Linked DNA regions of Homo sapiens: regions 1 and 2 are each linked to region 3. The links are contacts of gene promoters, found by promoter capture Hi-C in blood cells and fetal thymus (Javierre and others, 2016). All regions are on one chromosome and are shown on one strand. The core of a region is centred on a gene start or on the middle of the fragment in contact, and the rest is flanking DNA. Distances in the headings are between cores, read along the strand shown.

Region 1 (2,700 bases), core at 153-2,652, 1.9 Mb before region 3:
ACCATGTAGTCATTACATGTTTTTGAATTTTTTTAATTGTAAGGAATTTAGATGGCTCTTATAGCCATTCTTCTGCAGAGTAACTTAAGCTTCAAATAGCTCCTGTTTTCCACAACTACCACTGAACTGTAGAAATGTATTGTTACAAAAGGAGTAGAAATGACTTTTAAAGGTAATTAAGTATAATTAAATATATCTTCAGGGGGTATTTCATTTCTTGCAGGATTCTCTACTCTTCAAAAAAATCTAAAATCAACATTTACATTTTAAAAATGCATAAAATACTCAGCACAGAAGTGAATGAAGTTATGCATCCCAAACACAGTAAATTCTGCTTTCTATCTTTTCAGATAGACAGTCAACAATGGGAAGTCCTCCCTTTGGGGAGGGGGCAGGGAAGGGTGGGAGGGGCCAAGTGTGATAAATTTTTAAGATTAGAGTAAAATTTCCCTGGGTTCATCTGCTAGAACCTGAAAAGGTAAATCAGTTACGTGTTTACAATGGTGTTTCTACTTAACCCCCTTAAAAAAAAAAACTCGAATTACCATTTTCTCAAGTTCAGTTAATGAAATGTTTGGGAACCTGGGGAAGAAAAGCTATTTTTAAAAAAATTCCTTCTGAAAATCTGCTACCAGAAATTCCTCTCGTTTACTTCCAGACTTCTTCAGTCAACCACGTTTCTTGCTTCCCGGTGTGCTTAGATTAACTGCAGTTCCTCAGGGGGTTTATAAATCAATCAATAGGGAGTCTATATTCATAAAGGCCTCTGATCTAATTACACCCCCTCCTTTTTTCCCCCTCTCTAAAAAAGTTAAGTCGCGGAGCCAGGGACTCCCAGGGTAGCTCCGTCCACTAAGGGCGGCTGGAGGCTGGGGAGTCCCGGCGACGGCGGCGGGGGCATCCGTGGATTAGGATGTGGATTGCAGGACAGACCTTTGTTTGGTCACATTCGCGACAGGGATTGGGGGAAGGGTCGTCCTCCTTCGAGATCACGCTGGATTTTTATAGACTCGCCTTAAAAGGGCTCACTCTTCACAGGGTTAATTTATACGGCTTTCGAGGAATATTAGGACTTTTAAGACGCTGTTTATATTGTCCCATTAATTTTTTTGTTACACTCCTAACCCCCACCCCTACACCCCCCGGCTTCAGCATCTAATAGAAAGGGGGTGGGGGTGAGGGAAAAAGCAGGGCAAGGAGGCGAAGAGAATTTGCCTTCTAATCAAACTACTTACTCGGCCCAGGCTCTCCAACATGTTTTTAAAAATTAAATTTCTAACCAAGTCGTAAACACTAAAACTCAGATTTAGGAATTGGGAGGAAGGAGAGACAATCATGGGCTGTATACACCTTTTCCCAGGTCTCCACTAATCTGAAATCGGTATTAGCGGAATGAAGACTTTGGGGCCTTGGAAATTTTTAAAGAGGTTTACTTTTTTTTTTTTTTTTTAATAAAACAAAACCCGAGGATAGGCCAAAGATACCGAGAGAAGAAAAGGTGCCTGCTAGTAACAGGTGAGGGATGGAAGGGGGTGGCGGGGAGAAAGCCCCCAGACGGCGGATCGTCTGCGCGGGGTTCCTGCCCCAGGCCTGGCGAACCTCTGAGCGCTCAAGGAGCACGGCGGCAGTGCGCTGAGGCCAGTGAGGCCTGGGCGCCTCCGGGCCCAACCTCGAGCTCGCCATTTTTGAACCCAAGCGGGGAAGGTTGGTGCTCATGCTATAGATTATGTTAAAGGTTCCTTTAAGCACTTTAATACACAACTAGCTCAGAAATCATTAAGAGACCTAGAGAAGGAGAAAAAATACCCTCACACTCACCGGTAATAAGTGTTGACATGCAGCAAAAATCGGTTGAGTGGAACCGAGGTGGTGGTTGCAGCGACGGCTAGAGGGGGACCCGTGCAGGGGCGGGAGGGGCGAGGGGACTGACTGCACCGGCTCTGGGAGCTAGGTTTCTCTCGCTGGATGGGAAAAGGAGGTGCGGAAAGGGGCAGGCGGCCTGCGGGCTAGCGGGGATGAGAGTTGTGGGGAGAACGGAGGAGAGAGTAAAATTATTCCTTTTGGAAGTCCAAGGGAAGGGAGCTGAGGTGAGAGAAATGGCCTCTCTTAGGTCCCAAGTCTCCGCCCCCAGCCTGCACCACTCAAGTCGGGGAAGTGACAACTCTTCCTAAACCTCGACTTCCATTTTTTGTTTCCTGCAGATTGATTGATGTCCTCGCGTTGTTCTAGTTCAGCAACCAAACTAGGCCGAGGTACACCTCTTTTACCCAGAGCTCCCAAATCACTCACCAACCTGCAGGAGACCTAAATCCTCCGGGCAGGTCTCGTTAGCGCTTCCAGCCCCCATCCCCAAATCCCCTCTTCTAGCTCCTTCCTTCCCCTCCGCCCTTTGGCCCTCCCCGCCCCCTACCAGGCTGAGAGGCGGAGAGGCCGGGACCGCTGGGCCCTGCGGCTCCAGAAGCCAAAGTCCGCCCGTGGGGACCGTTTTCCTCTCCACTGCTCTCAAGTGAACAACATGGTGGGAGGTGACCCTCGTCCAAAGGGCTTTTATCTGCCCCCCACTGCTGCGTGATCCCTCCGCAAGTCGGAGGCAGAGCTTTAAAAAGAAAGAAAGTGTGCGTTGAGCACTGATCTTAAATCGGGGACATTATCTGCGATCTCTTTAAGTGGCAGCAGCAGTTTCTTGCAGAACAAAGACTC
Region 2 (2,700 bases), core at 136-2,635, 1.9 Mb before region 3:
CCCAGCGCGCGGCCTGCGCTTCCCTCCCGGCCTTACCATTGGCGCCAGGATGCTGCCGCGGGAAGAACTTGCTGCTGGCTGCCTCTTTTCGGCTCTCAGGAGAGTCCGTGAACTCGACCTTTTTGATTTCGGAGTCTTTGGAGAAGAGACATTCAACGGCCGCCGGCTGCACGCCTGGGCCACGCGCGCGCCCGCCCCACGTGCGGAGAGAGGCGTCCCGGACCGCGGCCGAAAGGAGCCGGGGACGGGAGGAGGGGGAGGGGCGAGGCAGGCCGGAGGAGAAAGAGGGACAAAGAGCAAAGACCCAGTTAGAGGAAAGAGCTGACGGCATCCCCGTCCCCCGGACCCTCTGGCAACCCGGGGCAGGATGGCGTACTCTTTCTGCGCCTCCCCGGTTGCCGGCGGTTCCAGCCGGGAGGAGTAGGCTGGGGGGCTTCGGTACACAGCGCGCCGCTGCTTCCTAGTCCACCGCCCCGCCACAGGGAGAGGCCACTGGCGATTTGGTTCTGATTTCCTTCCTGCCCAGGCTGGCCCCTCGGGGAAGCGCCCCTCGCTGGGGCCTCGCCGCAGGGCCAGTGCCCTCTTGCCGCCCTCACGTGGCGCGGCCTCCCGTCCGATGACCCGGGCAGGAGAAGGGGGTTCTTACCTAATTGCACACACGCCGACACCAGTTTGCGGCAGTTGGTCTCCATTCCCCGTTATCTGCAAAACAGAAGAGAAGGAAGGCTGTAAGAAGCGGCGGCCGTCGAGTGAGCAGGGCTCAGATGAGACTACGTTACACTAGCTGTTAGGCGCCTACTGTGTGCTAGGCTTCAGGCGTGTTTTTCCGACCTGACAGCCTCTGGCTGTGCAGCAGCATCTCCAGCCTAGCCTCGGGCCCAGGACATTTATTTATCAAGAGGGGATCTCCCTCCAGAGTTGCCGCAAAAGTGCCCAGAGGTTAGAGGACTATAAAGCCACAGTGTGCTGGGGAGGCTGTGGACCTACTTTCAAGAATCTCGGTGCCGGGGTTAAGAACTCATCTGAACGCAATGGCAGCGGGAGTGGGTGGGTGGAGAGGACTTTTCTCTTTGGGAAGCTGTATGCAAAGACCACCCTTCAGTGCTTGTCCATTAGTTGGAGCTCGGTAAACATTTGTAGAACATCAGCGCCAACGTGCCCCTGTCCTAGACAGCAGTTTCCCTCGGTTTTCTGTAATTCTGAAACGAACGGGCTCTTGGCCTAGGGTGTTTCAGGAGCGAGCTGAGTTCGGGCCTCTCATCCATCAGGAGCCACTTTTCCATATTTAGCCACACTTTCTCCTAGAGATACTAACCCGGCCATTTATTTACTTACTACAAATAATTACCCTAAAGTATGATTTAAGATCGCAGAGGAGAGACACTGGGTGGACTGAGCGAGACTGAGGAGAGCAGGGCAAACGTTCTTGGAGGGTTTACTGCCCGCCAAGGACGGAGAAATAGCTCTGGTATAACTGCTACCCAGTTCTCCCCCTTTCTCTCCCGGGCGAGCCAAATCTTTTTCACGTTTTCAACCACAACGCAGCGAGCCAAGCATTTAACGCGCTCCCCCTTCTCTGCCACAGGCAAGCCGGGAGAGGTGGGTCTCGAGGGGCTCCACCGGGTGGGTAGAAGAGCCGCGGTTGCTTTAAAGACAAGAAAAGAAGGTCCAGGGCTCCCTAGGCCCCTTCGATCTCAGCGCCTGCCTCTCTCCACGCTAACCAGGGTACGCCGACGACCGGAGGGCCCACTTCGCGCGGGTGCGGGGATCGGGGTGGGAGCAAGCGTTGTCGGGTTGGCGGAGGCACAGAGGCGGGGCAGGGAGCTGCGGGCCTGCCTCTGGCCTGAGTACCGTTTCCCTGCGTCTCGGCCTCTCCTGAAGGGAGCTGGGCCCTGGGGAGCCTCTGGCCAAGGTCGCTGCCTACAGGAGGGGCTGCCCGGCGCTGTGGCGTGGGGATCCAGGGTGGGGACGGCCAGGCGGTTCCCCCACCCGCTAGCGAGAACGCGGGCGGGGACTCTGCCGATTCGATCCTTGTGGGCCCGTGGGCCCAGAAGTAGCAGTTTGGCGGCTCCAGATTTAGTGATTCTGCAGTAAAATCACAGGATTAGTCCCTGATTGAGATGTCTGTTCGTGAGATATTACAAAATTCATTATCACAGCTTTCTACTAACTCGATATGAAGTAACACAGATGGGATTTTATTAGTCCAGACTTCAAATGTTTACTTATGATAATTTCGGAGGAAATTTGCATGTCATCATCATTTCGATAATCTTTTTTTTTTATATGTCTGAACTGGCTGCATTATTAGCTGGTAGCCGGAGCACTGCAGATGGTAACTGCAAATAGTTTTTATTTATTTATTTTTTTTAAAGAATGAAATATACAAAAGAAAAAGATTGCGTTGCTTGGTGTAAAGTCAGTCAATTATTACACATTCTTCCCCCCACTTCCCCGTGCTTCAGTGCTGAAGACCAAACAAAGCAATACAAAACAAATCTTCAAGAACTCATAGAGCTCCACTCTAAGGACTGAAAAGAAGGTCAAGGCGTGTTCCTTAGCTCACTCCTACATGTCCTTGTGACTTGGAGATTTATTTTGCAGTCAAAATGAGCCTTGAGACTTGCATTTTTATGCTTCATTTAATGACCAGGCCTACTAGAAGAACTGAGTCTAAATAACTGGGGAAGATAATTTTTT
Region 3 (2,700 bases), core at 11-2,510:
AGAGCGCCCCCGGCAGGCCCCCGCCGCCGCCCCCGCAGTGATCCGCCAGGCGCAGGGTCTCGGTGAGTGCCCAGATGTAGTTGTGGGCGAAGCGCAGGGTCTCGATCTTGGTGAGCTTGGCGTCCTCGGGGAACGTGGGGAGCACCTCGCGCAGCGCGTCCAGTGCCGCGTTGAGGTTGTGCATGCGGTTTCGCTCGCGGTTGTTGGCCTTCAGTCTACGGGTCTTCTTGATGCGCTGCACCGTCTCGGCCGTCTTGGCGCCTCGGGAGACGGCCCGCGCCCGGGAAGGGCGCCGTTTGCAATCGTGTACCAGACCCAGCAGCCGTGCGGGCCGGCAGCCCTCCGCACCCGCAGCCACGCCGCCCCGCGCCCCCTGCCCGGCCTCAGCCCCGCGCTGCCGACGCGCCCCGCCTGACGCGCCCGGCTCCTCCTCCTCTTCTTCGTCGGCGCTGGATGACAGCGGGGTCAGGGCCGCCAAGGCGGGGGAGGCCGATCCGAGCAGCACTAACACGTCCTCTTCCTCCTTCAACTCCAAGGTCTCGGATTTGACGAACATCCTACCGAAGAGAGAAAGGGGAAAAAGGCAGTGAGGTGTAAGGAAAGAAACAGAGGCGCGATCTTCGTGTCACAGGGGCGTGCTCCGGCGCGCACCCGAGAAGACCAGCTCCGAATGGCGCGGAGCAGGAAGGCGAAGGAAGAAACCCAGGCAGTGCTAACCAAGGTCAGGAGCGCCGCTAGCGCTCGCTGTGACCCTGCTGCCAGTCAGCCGGGTCCTGCCCTCCGCGGGCGGTCCTGCGTTCCCTCCCCGAGAAGGGACTGCGGCCTCCGCGACAAAGATTCTGCGCGGAGCAGAGGGCGTGCGGGTGTGGTTGGACTGAGTGCGGGGAAACCACCTGCGTAGTTGGAAGCGGTGGCTCGAATACTTACTTAGTTGGCTCTAACTGTGCCTCAGCGTTGCTGTGACTTTGGCCTGTGCCGGGAATCTCCGCGCAGCTGCGAGCGCAGCGCCGGGTCCTTCGCCCGGCGTGAAAGCTGCAAGCCCGGCGCTACTGTGGCGCAGCTCCGCGGGGGACCTCTGCGACCGGCGAGTTTGCCAAGAGCCCCGGCGGCGGCGGCGGCGGCCCGCCCGGGTCTCGTGTGTTGTGGTGGTGGTGCGTGTCTGTCTGTCAGTCAGTCCCTGGCCGTGCGGCTCCTGGCACGCGACTCCCAGGCACTCCAGTTAACGCGAAGCTGCTTGTGGTTCAGTGGCTGCGTGTCTGGCACACGACTCTCCTTAAAACCCCTTATATACCACCAAGAAAACAATCAGATCTGCCCCGGGCCCCCTCCTCCCCCGCCACCGCCTCCTCCTCCTGTCAGTCCTGCCCCCCTTCTCCCCCGCTTTTCCCTCCTCTGGCTTATTCTTTTCATTGCATTATCATCATTCATTTCTTCCTCTTTCTTCACCGCCTTTCCCCCTCCCTTGGCCCTGCCATCCATCCTCCTCCTCCCACCACCCCCGCCTCTCTTTTCCCCCTTTATCTAATCAACATAAAATGGTTCTAAAGCTCCTGTTGGAGCTCCGGGCTGCGGCCGGAGCTGGCGAAGCCGCAGCGGCCGCAGAGGCTCAAGCTGCGGCTGTTGTCGCCGCCGCTGTCCATTGTGATTGGTGGCTCGCGCTCGGCTGGAGCGTGCCGCTAATTTATTAATGAATGGAGGTCGCGAGGCGCAGCTGGCCAATCAGGGCGCCCTGGACTCCGGGAGGCCTGCGAGCCACGCGCACCGGAGCCCGCTCCCTTTCAGCAGCTCATTAGGGGCCCGAGCGCTGGGGGCGGATGGGGGGACCCGTGCTACCGCCCCCGCCTTCGTCCTCGCTGCCGCCGAGGCTCCCCCCGCCCGGCGCGCGCGCAGGCACCGCACCCGGCGCTGCCGGCCCTCCTAACTCCCGGGTGATGGGAACTAGGAATTAGTTAATGGGGGTCAGAATCCCGGGGAAAGCAGTTAGCCCTGTGGTGCTGCCGGGCGTCTCTTGGCAAAGCCTCTTAGGGGTTGTATCAAATAGTAAACGATTTTAAAATGGATTCATTTGGTTAGGGGAGGAGAATGGCGTGGATGGAGAGATGTGGACACCTCGTGAACAAGTGTGTTTGGGGTCCGTCGAAACTGGCGTGGGAGAGTGAAGGGAGAGGACACTGGGGATTCAAACAGGCGTCTCTTGGGAGGGGAGGTCGGATAGGGGAGCAGTTGATGAGCTTTTAGAGGATGTGAGAATGAAATCACTCACATGTTAGAGCTGAAAGGATCCCCCTCATTTTACATACAGGAAACTGAGGCTCCGGGCACTGATGCAGGTTTTGCTGGGGTTAACCCAGTTTATAGCCTGGAGGGACAGCAAGGAGGCTTCCTGCGTGGGTGGCAGCGAACCGAGCGGGAGGAGCGGCAGAGCTGCTGCTCCTGCAAGCAAATGCGCTGCGCTGACATTTCTGTGACCTCTGCTCCGCGCTGGGGGGCGTTGTAGGGACAAGGGGCCCATCTTCCCAATTCTGCTTTTCAATGAGAAAAAAGAGCTGAAGGGCTACTGGACCTCGGGGGAAACTTGTTCTCAATTGCTCGTTAGCCCTCCCCACTTTCCCCACGTTCATGCCCACCCTCTTGTCGACATGGGGATGGATCCGGACTTCAGTAGACCGGAGTGGCGTCCCTTGAGATCCCCTTTGCAAA

What was found. Contacts are between HindIII fragments. The CHiCAGO score rates a contact against its expected background, and 5 or more counts as called.
Region 1: a contact is called between a fragment that was not itself captured here and the fragment with the promoter of NEUROG2 in region 3, in 3 of 17 cell types (total B cells, endothelial precursors and naive B cells). The highest score is 12.6, in total B cells.
Region 2: a fragment that was not itself captured here is called in contact with the fragment with the promoter of NEUROG2 in region 3 in 1 of 17 cell types (total B cells); the score reaches 16.6 in total B cells.

The regions. Positions count from the first base shown.
Region 1 is chr4:110,613,489-110,616,188 of GRCh38, forward strand. It overlaps PANCR (PITX2 adjacent non-coding RNA), which reads right to left and starts at 1,970. Exons shown (of 2, transcript NR_147203.1): 1 at 1,819-1,970. It overlaps LOC105377363 (a long non-coding RNA gene), which reads left to right. Exons shown (of 2, transcript XR_939071.3): 2 at 1-15. RefSeq lists an enhancer at 2,573-2,700. The HindIII fragment of the contact is 2,630 bases long and covers 88-2,700 here.
Region 2 is chr4:110,632,307-110,635,006 of GRCh38, forward strand. It overlaps a transcript of PITX2 not described here. Among named protein-coding and RNA genes, the nearest start is that of PITX2, 11 kb to the left of the region's middle. RefSeq lists an enhancer at 11-523. The HindIII fragment of the contact is 9,925 bases long and covers 1-2,700 here.
Region 3 is chr4:112,514,920-112,517,619 of GRCh38, forward strand. It overlaps NEUROG2 (neurogenin 2), which reads right to left and starts at 1,261. Exons shown (of 2, transcript NM_024019.4): 1 at 928-1,261; 2 at 1-557. The coding sequence starts at 556. NEUROG2-AS1 (NEUROG2 and ZGRF1 antisense RNA 1) reads left to right here and starts at 460. Exons shown (of 4, transcript NR_161159.1): 1 at 460-721. It overlaps LOC124900760 (a long non-coding RNA gene), which reads left to right and starts at 1,886. Exons shown (of 2, transcript XR_007058231.1): 1 at 1,886-2,120. RefSeq lists silencers at 1-92, 353-422, 1,743-2,022 and enhancers at 2,032-2,700, 2,163-2,262, 2,363-2,482. The HindIII fragment of the contact is 11,776 bases long and covers 1-2,700 here.